Regions from separate parts of the Homo sapiens genome. Here regions 2, 3 and 4 are each linked to region 1. The links are contacts of gene promoters, found by promoter capture Hi-C in blood cells and fetal thymus (Javierre and others, 2016). All regions are on one chromosome and are shown on one strand. Each heading gives the region's core, a stretch centred on a gene start or on the middle of the fragment in contact. The rest is flanking DNA. Distances are from core to core; before and after follow the strand shown.

Region 1 (3,147 bases), core at 154-2,653:
TCCTCTGAAAAACTCTCTTTCCAGGCGGGGCGTTCTGTGGTCAGACGAGGCAGAGGCCTCCCCGGAACGAAGTCCACGCCCCCTCCCCACCCCAGCACCCAGCGAGCCCACGCGCCCCTCACCCACGCGCAGAGAAACCGAGCACTTGTTGATTCTCACGTTGTTGCAATTGGAAAACGGAACAAGGAACCAGAGCTCGCCTGTTTCCAGCCAGAGTCGCACGGGGGTCCCCAAAGACGCTTGAACCTTTTCCCAAGCCCCACTCCACCTTCCAAAACGGGGGGGCTCAGGTGGACGCGAAAGGACACAAGGCGCTGCCCCCAGCACCCCGGAAAATCTAGTGTGGCGGCAAATGACCGCAGGTCACACACCCCGGCCTCGGGGGCCACGGAAAACGGACGCACCCGGCCCAGGACAGGCAGTGGGGCCCAGGAGGGGACTGCCGGGAAGACCCGGGCGGGCCGGCGGGCGGCTGCGGGCGGCGCACGTGGGCCCAGGTGGGCGCAGCGACGGGCCCGGCCGAAGAGCCCGAGACAGGCCCTGCGAAGGCGGAAGCCCGGACCCGGGCTCTCCTGGCCGCCCCTGGAGCTCAGAGGGAGACTGCGCTTCGCCCCGGGGGCAGGGGCAGGAGCGCGATCGCGCGCGGGGCCCCCGGGGTGTGATTAGCAGGCGCCGCGAGCCGGGAGGACCCCCCAGCCCGCCCTGGCAGCCAGCACCCTCTCCACACCCGCCCAGAGTGGCCGCTTTTGACCGCCGTCCCCTCCCACCCTAGACTCCTCCCCTCAGCCCCACGGCCCGAGGCCGAGCGGTTTCAGCGACCCTGGGACCGCCGGGCCTGGCTGGAGTCCACCCCTGGACACCTGTCAGGGTCGGGCCCCGGCGCTGTAAACCCGCGTCTACACCCGCGCCCAGCCCCCGCGCAATGGGGATCGGGGGCGGCGACTTGGGTTCGGGTCAGGGAGGCCGCCGGCTGCTACCTGCTCGGCCACCTGCTCCGCTGCCTAGGTTCTCCCTGCGCGTCCCCAGCCAAGAAAGGGACCCGGAGTCCGGGCGTCGGGATAGCTCCTGTCCCCGATCTTGCGCCCCCGGCTCCCGCGGGGCTCCGGTCCGGGGTCCCGCCCAGGTCTCCGCGGTCCCCACTCGGAGGGGCACAGAGACAAAGGCGGCAGAGCAGCCCGCCCGTCCCCGAGGGTCACCCACCGGCGCTGCGCTCGTTGCTCCGAGGCCGAGGGGCGCCGCGGGGTCCAAGGCCCTGCTCCGCCTGCCCAGGCCCGGGCAGGCTGGTCTCGGCTTCAAGCGCCCACGCGCGGGGTCCCCGGGCAGCCTGCTTCGCCTTCCGGGGTCGGGAGACAGGGGCCGCCGGGGCCGGAGGCTGCTTCTCTCTGGCGCGCGGCGGCGGTGACTGACGGCGGCGGCTCCGAGGGACGGGCGCGCACCCAGCTCCCCGGCCCCGCCTCCCCGGGCTTCCTGCGAGCCAGGTAAACACAGGCCGATCCCGCCGGGCCCGCCCCACCTGGACGCGGCCGCCGGCGCCGCCCCGGGAGCTCGGAGGACCCCGGGCCCGCTCTGCCCACGCGGAACTTGGGGGGCGCACGGGGCCCACGCGCAGGGTCAGACCTCGGAGGGGCGGCCTGGAGCCTCGCCCGCTGCCGAACTGGGCTCCGAACTGCGGCCCGTCGACCCTTCCCGTTCGGAGGCTTGGCCTCCGAACCCACCCCGACCCCGACCTCGACCTCGCGGGAGGGGTGCCAGGCCGCATCTCCCCGCGTCCTCAGGGGCTGGAAACCCCAGAAACTGCCGATAGACTTGGCGCAGCCCCGGCCCTGCAGGAGGAGAGTCAGCCCGGCCTGGAGGCGAAAGGAGCCGGCAGGTCCTCCCAAGGCACTCCCTCCCTCCCCTGGAGCCCAGGCCAGGCCCATGTCCGGCTGGCAGGTGCTCCTCTGGGAGCTGGGAGCTGGGAGCTGGGAGCTAGGGGCGCACCTTCTCCTGCAGGACCGGCGCAGGAAGCGTGCGCGGAAAAGACAGCAAAACACGCGCAGGTGCGAGGAAGCAGCCTGGTCCTGCAGCCCAGAGACATCGTGGTCTTCGTCGCTGTCTTGTTAAAAAGAAAAAGCCTGCTGTTTAGCCGTGACTCACCTGCACACAGATTTAGTGGTCAGAGATCTTTCTCTGGATTCTCAGCCTCCTGATGGTGGAAGAGGAGGAGGTTGGGGGAGTCCCAGAATGAGGCCCCGCGTTCCTCCTGACCTACACCCCCAGTCAGGGATCTGGATCTGGAGCTTCCAGGGGACCTGGAGCAGCCTGGGACCCACACAGTTTGTTAGGAAGTGAGGGAGAGGGGTGAGCGCTGTCCCGGCCCGCGCTGGGAGGCGGGACTCAGACTTCAGCACGGGGTCGGGGTTTCGGCCTAAAACCAGCCTCCCCCAAAGCCCCGGAGGATTTAGCAACTGTCTTCAAATGCTGGCAACTGGAAGAGAAATACTTCCACAACGACGCAAAAGCATTCAGTCTGGTCGTTTCCTCAGGAGAGATTTTCAAGTGGAGGGGGCAGGAGGGTTCTGAGACTTTGAGGCTGAAGGTGAGGAGGGAAAAGGGTGCCAAAGATAGTGTGTTTCTCCAATTTTTCTGCCCCACAACCTCACTTTAAGTCAAGGATGAGCGGAGTGGGCGTGGGAGGCTGGACAGCTGCCCTAGGAGCACGGGTGGTGACAATGAACCCGGGTGCACCCAGGTCCCAGCTCAAGTCACTCAAAGCTCAGGCTGGGGAAGCTGGAACACTAAAATGGGTCCCATTTTAGATACCTGCTTTAGCATCAGAAACAGCTTTTCCTCCCCAAAATATCTCTTGGCTTTATCTCAGTGACTCCACAGGGCGGGGCCACCTTCCTGCCTGCAGATGTCCCTGTGTGCTGGGCTCTGGAGCGTCCCTCAGGCCACAGTGACAGCTGCACACGCGGCCTTCTGTTTGGTGCTCCTTCTGCTGGTGTTACAGTGGTTTCCTGAAACACTACATATGCCAACAGTCAGCCCTACAAATGTCAGGCTCCACAAGTTCCAGTTAAAAGTCTTTTTAAAGTATTTATGAAATTTCACCGTGCATATTTTGTTGGGATAGAGTGTCCACACAGATGGGCAGCCAGGCAGTTT
Region 2 (3,147 bases), core at 369-2,868, 190 kb before region 1:
CAAAAAGGGTGGGGACTGCTGGTGTAGTGCACAAGGGTCACCCAGGAGCCTTGTGAGCGGGCAGGTGGTTCTCCAAGCAGGTTCTTGAGGAAGGGCTGTAGAGTGAAGCTTTGGTGGCAGTGATGACCCTGGGATGCGCTGTGGCCCATTTCGGGGCCTGCTGTCCTCACCAGCTGGCAGCTCAGGCTCCCTGGCTTCACACCAGTGGGGTCACTTTCTCATTTAGGATGCTGCTTTTGGACAAAAGTCCTGTGGGTCCTCAGCGCCTCAGGACAAACTCCATCAGCTGCCCCTCTGGCTCCTGCCTGGCCCCTGCTACGCCACGTGGACTTGGGCTCTGCTGGCTGAGCTGCCAGTACCTCGTTTGCCACGCCCTCTCCCTCCCACCCACTGCACAGGTGGCTCCTGTGCCTGGCATCCAGGATGTGCCTGCAGCCACACACCCTGCCATTAGCGCTTCCCTGCTGCCCCCCTCAGCCCTTCCACTCTGGCCTGCGGACATGGGAGCAGGAGGCTTTGTGAGCAGCACGAGCCGGGTGGGTCTTCTGGAGCCTGTGTCTATCCAGATACATTAGTGTTTCTGTTAAGCTTTGGTGGGTTAAGTTCATTCTGTATATTCTTTTCTGTACTTTAAAAAAAATTATCAAATACAAAATTTTTAAACCAAATTGATTAATTAGCATGCATTGTCCAACAAGTAATTTAAAAATATCCAATAGAAATTGTGTAGCTTTATTTGAATCTTTTTTCTATTAGCTGGCAAACTTAGACTTGTGCTGATTTAATACTCTGAAAACTTGCAAAAACCAGATGAAAACTTTCTTAGCTTTTTGAATGGTATTTTTCTAAACATAATGAATCCTTGGTAGCAATAAAACCACCATTTTATTGTCAAGAGATTAATGAACCTACAAGAAAATGGCTGTAAATATGTAAATTAAATTTGACCTGAAAATTAGAAGGTGGTCAAGAGAAATTAACCGGTGTCTAATGATGATTGTTCAGTTAAGAGTTATTCACTAGGGGATAAATGTCGAATGATTTAATATTACTTCCTTAAAATGACATGTGCTCCTTGAATTTAATGAGGAAACGGACTAATAGCACGGGGAAGAGATCCAATGTGAAGAAATCAAGTTGTTCAGCATTATACCACCCTGAACACTGCACTCTGTGCATGGAAAAATAAGAATCTCCCTAAATGGACTGAAGGAAACAGTAATATAAACATAGAAATTACTGTACATATTTAAAAGATAGGAAAGTCATGTAAACTTATTATGTATTATTTTTTGTTTCTTTGTAAAATCCATGAAAGATGATGTTCCTAAAAACAGAGAAAGGTGGTCTTACTTTACTTAAATAGTATTCTATTTTATAATTTTTTTAATTTTTTATTTTTTTATTATTTTTTTTGAGACGGAGTCTCGCTCTGTCGCCCAGGCTGGAGTGCAGTGGCACGATCTCCGCTCAGTGCAAGCTCCGCTTCCCGGGTTCACAGCATTCTCCTGCCTCAGCCTCCTGAGTAGCTGGGACCACAGGCGCCCGCCACCATGCCCGGCTACCTTTTTTGTTATTTTTTAGTAGAGACGGGGTTTCACCATGTCAGCCAGGATGGTCTTGATCTCCTGACCTCGTGATCCGCCCGCCTTGGCCTCACAAAGTGCTGGGATTACAGGCATGAGCCACCACGCCCAGCCTAGTATTCTTAAATAATGGGCAAATTTGGCTGGGTGCAGTGGCTCACGCCTGTAAAACCTAGGACTTTGGGAGGCCGAGGCGGGCGGATCACGAGGTCAGGAGATCCAGACCATCCTGGCTGACACGGTGAAACCCCGTCTCTACTAAAAATACAAAAAATTAGCCAGGCGTGGTGGCGGGCACCTGTGGTCCCAGCTACTTGGGAGGCTGAGGCAGGAGAATGGCGTGAACCCGGGAAGTGGAGGTTGTAGTAAGCCGAGATCGTGCCACTGCACTCCAGCCTGGGCGACAGAGTGAGACTCCGTCTCAAAAAAAAAAAAAAAAAAAAGAAGAGCAAATTTGAGTTCATAATAGCAAAAAATTTGGAATATATATGTTTTTATAAGTCCATAATTCTAATTTAAAACTTGAAAAGGGCCCAATTTTGGAAGAATATTGTGGGAGTAAGTGATAATTTTAATTCAGAGAAAATTGGCTAATTTTGAAATGTAATTCTGATTTATTTGTTCCAAACTTTAGACTCTTCAGGGGTGAGGAGGAGCAGGCCGGTGGTAGTTGTGTGTCCTGCTTGCCCACTGAAGTCTGACAGTTTTATCAGGAGGTGTAAACGTGCATGCAGAAAATCTATTCAAGAAAGCAAAATGATTTTTAGTTCTTATTCTGAATACAAGAAGAAGCAATTTACTTATTCATGAAGGGAATTCTCTTTTATACTAATTCTTGTCATAAAAAAACAAACTTATTATTACAGATAATTGGTCAGGTGCAAAACATTTAAAACTTTGTATTTAGGTATATAAATGTGGCTTTTTAAGTCTAAATTTGACTGTGGAGTGACCCAGAAATTGGCAAATCTTATTACAGACTCCTGATGGGAAAAGAAGCCAATTCTGAAGTAACAAGTTAGTTGTAAGTTTAACACTGAGAGTCATCTGGCCCATGCTGTTTAAAGCTTTCTTAATTTTGTGCCTTTCTTAGCCTTGATCTTCTACAAGTCGTTCATATTTACTCTTGTACTTGTAAATATCTTGACATTTTTATTGAGGCACAATGTTTTGTTTTAAGTTTATTAAGAGTTGTGTATAGGCCGGTAAAATTATGAACTGCTAAGAAAAATATTTCTAATGAAATTGTACATGTGAGCAGTAAGTGAGGTTGATTTATGGGTACTTGACAATGGTATAGTGAAGTTTGTTATTGCATAGAATGCCTTTCATCAGTATCCAGCCCTTGCTCATATTTTACAGCATTTCCCAGATTCAGTCGAACATTGACATTCCTGGGTCTCAGCAGGCCCAAGTTAATTCAGTAGTCATGGGTGGGGCTGGCGTCTGTGCTGTTCATTACCCACCTTCCCTGTGACTCTGACGCAGCTGCCCCAGCTGCCAGGGCCAACAGCTGTTGCGCCATTCCTCTCTGCTGGGGCTTGGTGCTTGCTGTTACATT
Region 3 (3,147 bases), core at 318-2,817, 160 kb before region 1:
TCTCCTCCGTGGCTAGTGTGTCTAGTTCACGAAGCAATTAACTGGGTCTTACTATCATTGTAGTGTGATTTCTTTGTATTAGCAAAGACAAAAACGCTAACATTGAAAAAGTATGTCAGATTTTCCTTCATGTTTCTGGTTATAAGAAGCATAGCTTACAAAGCAAGCGTAAGATTGAGGCATGAAGTTCAGAAAAAAAAGTGTTACAACACACAGGGAAGTTTTTTCCACTCTTTTCTCTGTGCATTTTGAAAATTAGTCAAAATGGACTCTTTTCAGTCTACCATAAGTTAATATAACTGATACCTTGAGAGATGGCTGGACCAATTCTCTCCATGACAAATGTTTAATCATTAGTTACAAGAATGCAGTATCTGGGGCGTCAACATGGGGACTCGAGTAAACCTGACCCACCAATAAGGATTCAGCTGTCCACACGGGCTGGCGACACACTTACCGCATCAATCTGTGTTCAGGTCCAGGGTTACATAATTGCAGAAGCACAAGCCATACATCGCAGGTAGGAAACCACAGAACCGTCTGCAAGGAGCAAGCAACGGTGGCCCTGTCCACCCCAGCAAATAAGAAGCATATCTGTAGCTTAAGGCCACGAATCCGTAAAAACCCCATGACTTTCTCTTCGTGCATAAACAGATGTATTTTTGATTTCAGGGAATTCTTTAGTATCGTCAATGGTGCCACATAAAACATGTCCCAAACCAAATCCCACCCGTGCTGGGCAGAGTGCGTGCACGCCATTCCTACAGCATTCCAAAGATGGAAGGTTCTTTACTTCATGTTAATTTTTCCTTTGAAATTATTTATATGTTCTATATATAAATACATATGTACATAGATATATGGGCCTCTGTGTGGCTGAACAGTATATTTTGTAAATATAAGTACTAGTCCTAATTGCAGAAAGAGCGTCAGTTTCACCTCCCCACGAGCACTTCAGATCAGTATTGTATTCATTTTATTCATAAATGGATATCTTTTTCATTGTCATATAAAGCTGGGTTTTATTTTTTTTTCCTGAAAAATAATTGCCTTTATTTTCTCTCGTTGCCTCCTTGGTTTCAGAAGAGAGTAGTTTTATTATAAATATTGTATGGACTTTGTATATTAAGAGAGGAGCTCATTTCAGATTCCTAAAGAAATAGACATTTTACTGTTATTTTGAAAGGGCATCTTTTGATTTTTTTGTTGTTGTTGTTCACTTTTGGCATATGTATATAAGTAATATTGACGGTGATATGAAAACTTTTGTTATGTGAAGATATTTAAGTCAGAAAATTGTTAAATAATATTACTTCTTTTCCAAACTGCTTTGTGTATTGTATATTTTTTTAAGAAAAAGAAAAGCCTTATTTGACTTATGCTTGTGATACTGGACTTCTTACCAATCCGGAGGTTTCCTTCCTTGAATGTCAGTGTGTAAACCTGGCTGTAGCCGCATATGCAGAATAACTGTAATTGTGCTAGAGTTTTAAAGGTTCTGCTTTTAATGCACTTTTTATTTTATAATTTTGTATTGAAATATTTTAGAAATGTTGATTAATTTTGGTGAAAAAATATCCCCAAAGTGGAAATTATTGGAATTTTAAACTTTTGTTCTTGCTGGGTTATTTATTTTGATTTTAGCATTAAATGTCATCTCAGGACATCTCTAAAAGGGGTTGTTTAATTCCTAATTGTATAGAAAGCTAGTTTGGTGAATTGTATTGGTTAATTGACTGTTTAAGGCCTTAACAGGTGAATCTAGAGCCTACTTTTATTTTGGTTAAAGAAAAAGAAAATATCAATAATTCAATTTTGTGTCTTTTCTCAATTTATTAGCAAACACAAGACATTTTATGTATTATTTCGATTTACTTCCTAATTATAAAAGCTGCTTTTTTGCAGAACATTCCTTGAAAATATAAGGTTTTGAAAAGACATAATTTTACTTGAATCTTTGTGGGGTACAGGTTGATCTTTATATTTTACTGGTTGTTTTAAAAATTCTAGAAAAGAGATTTCTAGGCCTCATGTATAACCAGGGTTTTGAGGATAAAGAACTGTATTTTTAGAACTATCTCATCATAGCATATCTGCTTTGGAATAACTATAAATAAAAGATGAAGTTAGGAAATGTGATTAATTTTTTTCGTTTGAAAATATTTAAGATAAAACAGTTTGGCATGTAAATTAATTTCAAGTTCAGATATTTTTAAGAGAAAACTTTAGTGGTATTTTCCTTTACCTCTGTGAAGTTCAGAGGCGTTTACCCCTGCAGTGTCCACTGGAAAGGCTTCAGACTTTCAAAATCAGGGCATGGCTCCGCGACAGCGAGCCGTGGGCGTCAGCACAGTGCCCTGTGCATGTGTCAGAACTGTTCCTGTTCCCTTTCATTTGCTGCTTTATTCAACGGCACCCAGTCATTGAGGAACCTTTTGAAAGTTCCTAAGTGTTTTGATCCTGCTTGTGTGCTCAAGTAACCATGAAGCACTGAAGCTGAAAGAATGAATTGCCTTTGCAAAGATACCAAACGTGAAGGTGGGGTGCAGGTACTGAGGAAGCAGGAGGCATGTAGCATGTGTGGAGTCCCACCTGCTAGATAATGCCCAAGCGGCTGCGTTTCCATAGAATGGCAATAGATGAAAATGAAGACATGTTTTCAAACATGCAGATTGAAATGCTACCCCACCCCCATCAAGCTCTACTTTTTCCCCTTTGAAAAACTTGAGGCACTTAGAAAGTATCTAAATAGAGGAAATGCTATGACATGGCATCTGACAGCTTGCAGCCAGGTCAGTGGGAGGCTCATCAAATGCCACTCTCCTCTTCCTGACAGTGTTCTGCTGGTGGGACATGAACATCAGTGCTTGTCTGGCACTTAACTAGGGGATGTTTCCTTCGTGCATATTTTCTACTCCCCTGTTGTAATATTTTAAGGAAACTTGATCTTTGAAATTATAGCTAGTGTTCTGTGTCTTCCTTTGAACTCATATCACATTTATTACAAGAGACGCATGTGTTAGCACAGCTACACAATTTTTAGAAGTAGAAGTGGATTTCTTGTCTTGCTGTGGGTTTTCCTCATTTTAGAAGAATATTTGTAACTCATTAAGATACACATTTTAACATGAAATGACCATCACACAG
Region 4 (3,147 bases), core at 461-2,960, 140 kb before region 1:
CTGCTGGGGGCTTCCCACCATACAAGCTACTTGCACAGTTTTCTTTTCATTCAGCCTGTGCTTGGGAGTGAGCATGGCCACTCAGAACCAGGCAGCTGCTTTCGTGTGAACAGTTGATTCGGGGGCTATCCAGTGAGGTGAGGGACGGGATGTGTGGCAAGAAGGTCTAAGCACTGCACACGAGGGGACAGCCAGCCTCGCTCTTGCGTCCTAGAGGTTTCCAGGTTCATGCTCACTCCCTGATGGCAGAGGGCAGGTTGCCAGCCTGGCTCTACATGGCAGAAAGCCACTTCCCTGCAAGCGTTAAGTCCTTCTGTCTTACTCTATTGCTTTTCTCCAAAAATAAAGCATTTTTGAGAGCTAAATCCGGGGATTGACTTTCAGATTAACAATCTGCGCGGCCTTTCCTCCTTTCCAATCCTTAGTCATGTTTATCTTTGGGGAACCTAGAATGTACCAGGAAACACACAACACAGCTTAGAAAGAGAAAGTGGGGGCTCTCTGGAACTCCAGACAAGGAGAGAGTCCTGCGGCTCTGGGAAACAGACAAGCAGACAAAATGCAGAGAAGGATTTTGCTTTGGAAAAAAGAGAAATTCAACAGACATTAGTAGGACCCAAAAGGGAGAGATGCAGGGAGGAATGCAAGGGTCTTTCTTGTTAGCTGCTGGGGCAGAACGGCCTGTGTGCAACCCCCCATCGCTCCACATTCAGGGAGGATCCGGCACGACGGCCCCAAAGTCCACTCCTAGAAAATTAAGAGCAGATAAAGCAGTAGCTAAAATAAGATTTCTGGGTCAAAAATGAATTTCATTCTTCTATCATCTTTGTCTCCTGCTGGCATAGAAAATAAAAAATTAATTGTGAGTACTAGTCCATGTACATTTGCTACATGATTGTCATCGTTTTGCAAATTCATTAGGTCAGAAAAAGCAAGTCAAATATGCATTAATGGAAAACGTTTCGGTAAATATCTTAGTTCATAATTCAGTGTAATCATGTGTGGGACTGATCTGGGATCCTCATGGTCTCTCAAGTACCCTGCCCCTTCCTCCCTCTCTTCCTTCCTCTTCCCCACCTTCTGTTTTCTTTCCCTGTTCTTTCTTCCTGTTCTTTCTCCTTGTTGTTTTTCTTTTAAAATGTATTCATTCATTTATATGATGCTTATTAATTGAGCAGAAAGTGTAGGTAGGCTCTGTTCTAGCGTATGAGAGCATTGCAGTTTCGGAGACAGACACAACCTATCTACAATACGTTGGTGGTTATTCCTCCATTTTATTCTAAAATTATAACTTTTATACAGTAAGAATCATATCTGGTATTTGCTAGTAACTAAAGTCTGTAAGTTTGGTTAGAATATAATGATTGGCATTTTAATTTGGCTCAGACACCAAATTTTTTCACTAGAAAGTTCAAATTGGCCATTTTAAACCTTCCTTGAAAGTTTGCTTTCAGTATTAACCAGCCTAAAATTCCTAAGGAAGATTTTCTGGATGGCTTGATATCTATGTTTTAATTATTATTTAAACACATACAAAACAAAAATCTTTGGATTAATGAGGTTATTATAAATCGAGCAACTCTATTTAGCCTCTTTTTCTGTTCATCAGCAGAATCATTTTCCCAGTGTCAGCATCTGGGGTCACTGAGACGGGCCAGCCAGTCCCACTTCCACATGCGGGTTCCTGGGGCTTCTCGCACTGGTTGTGTTGGAGGAAGTTAAACATTTTCTCGGACGTGGTGTTGCTCCCTCCCTGGGAGGGAGACCAGTCACGTCGCCTGGGAACCCTCTGGGAGAAGAGGATCTGGCCTTGCAGGGCTGGGTCCCCGGCACAGAAGCAAGAGACCAGACCTTCCGGAAGGGAAGACCACGTTTCATTTCCCCAGTGGAAGACAAGGCGGCCCGATCCCAGCTGTGGGCAGAGAGGTCTCGAGAGGAGAGAAAAGGAGGCCAGGAAGCAACCGAAACAGAGCAGAACACAAAAGTTGCGGGGCTGTGAGGACTGGGACGGAAGAGGAAGCCGATGGAAGTGCGTTCGTCACCTACCCAGCTAAATCTGCTCAGGGACAGTCCTCTCCCCTGCATGAGGAAGACAGAGAAATAATGACATGGTGGTCAGTGAAGGGAAAGTCCTTTCAATCAACAGGAAACACAGTCAAAGCACAGTGGAGCTGAGGTGGTAAAAACAGGTTCCACCCGGAGCTCCGAGGGGGGCCGCAGGCTCAGGGCCACAGCGGCTGTGCAGGTGCGGGAGGGACAGGAGGGGTGCATGGATCTGCCGACCTGTTCTACTTGGGAGCTGCCTGGCAACACGTTTTGGGATGGATTCTGGTAGCTCGGAGCCTAACTCTCTCTTTGGTACATTATGGGATTTTAGAGAAGGTCTATCAGAAAAGTGATGATCAATCAAAACATTCCAAGGTCTTACCTTTCCCTGCGACGGGGGTGGTGTGCGAGGCGTCACCTGGAAAGACACAGAGAACCGTGGGCTGCACTGGGAGCCCTGTGCCGCCGTCCATTTCCTAACGGGCTCCTGCCTGCTGAGGGTGGCTAGCATCCATCAGCTGCCAGAAGCACCCGGGTGCCCAGCCTCCCCACTTCTGTCCTAGTTGGTGAAGAAGTATAGACCTGAGATTGAAAATATTCTAGATGATGCAGATCTCCCAGAGCACTCAGGAAGTGTTTCAGAGGATGGAAAACACCTCCCAGAGGCTCCGTAGCTGGGGAATGGGCCCATCTTGGGACACTGAGGGAGGCGGCGGACTTTGCTTCACCGTGAGCCCTTTCCGGGGCTAGGAGTAGCGGGCCCTCTGACATTCAGAGCTTCCAAGGGGATGTCCCCAGGTCTGCAGCTCCTAAGTGCACTTATCGAATACGAGCATAAAATGTCTGCTGCACTGAGATCTTGGAATTAGAAGCCTGTGGTTTTGTTCTTGTTTTTAATCGTCTTCGTTTTGCATGGCACTTTTCGGTTTACAGAAAAACTGTGCAGAAATTAGTTTCCACATACCCCGAACAGTTTCCCTTATTAGCAACACTGCCTTAGGGCTCTCTCGGTGCTGTGCACGCTGTGGGTTTGGACAAGTGCGTGGTCTTCAGTCACCATGGCAGCCTCGACAGAGCGGTTTCGCTGCCCGAAAAATGCCC

Evidence for each region. Contacts are between HindIII fragments. The CHiCAGO score rates a contact against its expected background, and 5 or more counts as called.
Region 2: a fragment that was not itself captured here is called in contact with the fragment with the promoter of MBP in region 1 in 1 of 17 cell types (total B cells); the score reaches 5.3 in total B cells.
Region 3: a fragment that was not itself captured here is called in contact with the fragment with the promoter of MBP in region 1 in 3 of 17 cell types (naive B cells, total B cells and activated CD4 T cells); the score reaches 7.2 in naive B cells.
Region 4: a contact is called between a fragment that was not itself captured here and the fragment with the promoter of MBP in region 1, in 6 of 17 cell types (monocytes, neutrophils, activated CD4 T cells and 3 more). The highest score is 8.5, in monocytes.

The regions. Positions count from the first base shown.
Region 1 is chr18:77,131,380-77,134,526 of GRCh38, forward strand. It overlaps MBP (myelin basic protein), which reads right to left and starts at 1,404. Exons shown (of 9, transcript NM_001025101.2): 1 at 1,201-1,404. RefSeq lists a silencer at 369-1,668. The HindIII fragment of the contact is 15,459 bases long and covers 1-3,147 here.
Region 2 is chr18:76,941,114-76,944,260 of GRCh38, forward strand. All of the region lies in intron 26 of ZNF236 (zinc finger protein 236), which reads left to right. Among named protein-coding and RNA genes, the nearest start is that of MBP-AS1, 38 kb to the right of the region's middle. The HindIII fragment of the contact is 2,065 bases long and covers 587-2,651 here.
Region 3 is chr18:76,968,594-76,971,740 of GRCh38, forward strand. ZNF236 (zinc finger protein 236) reads left to right here. Exons shown (of 31, transcript NM_001306089.2): 31 at 1-3,147. Among named protein-coding and RNA genes, the nearest start is that of MBP-AS1, 10 kb to the right of the region's middle. The HindIII fragment of the contact is 3,480 bases long and covers 1-3,147 here.
Region 4 is chr18:76,986,449-76,989,595 of GRCh38, forward strand. It overlaps MBP (myelin basic protein), which reads right to left. Exons shown (of 9, transcript NM_001025101.2): 6 at 2,429-2,464; 7 at 2,047-2,079. Among named protein-coding and RNA genes, the nearest start is that of MBP-AS1, 7.6 kb to the left of the region's middle. RefSeq lists enhancers at 1,814-3,013, 2,815-2,864. The HindIII fragment of the contact is 8,996 bases long and covers 1-3,147 here.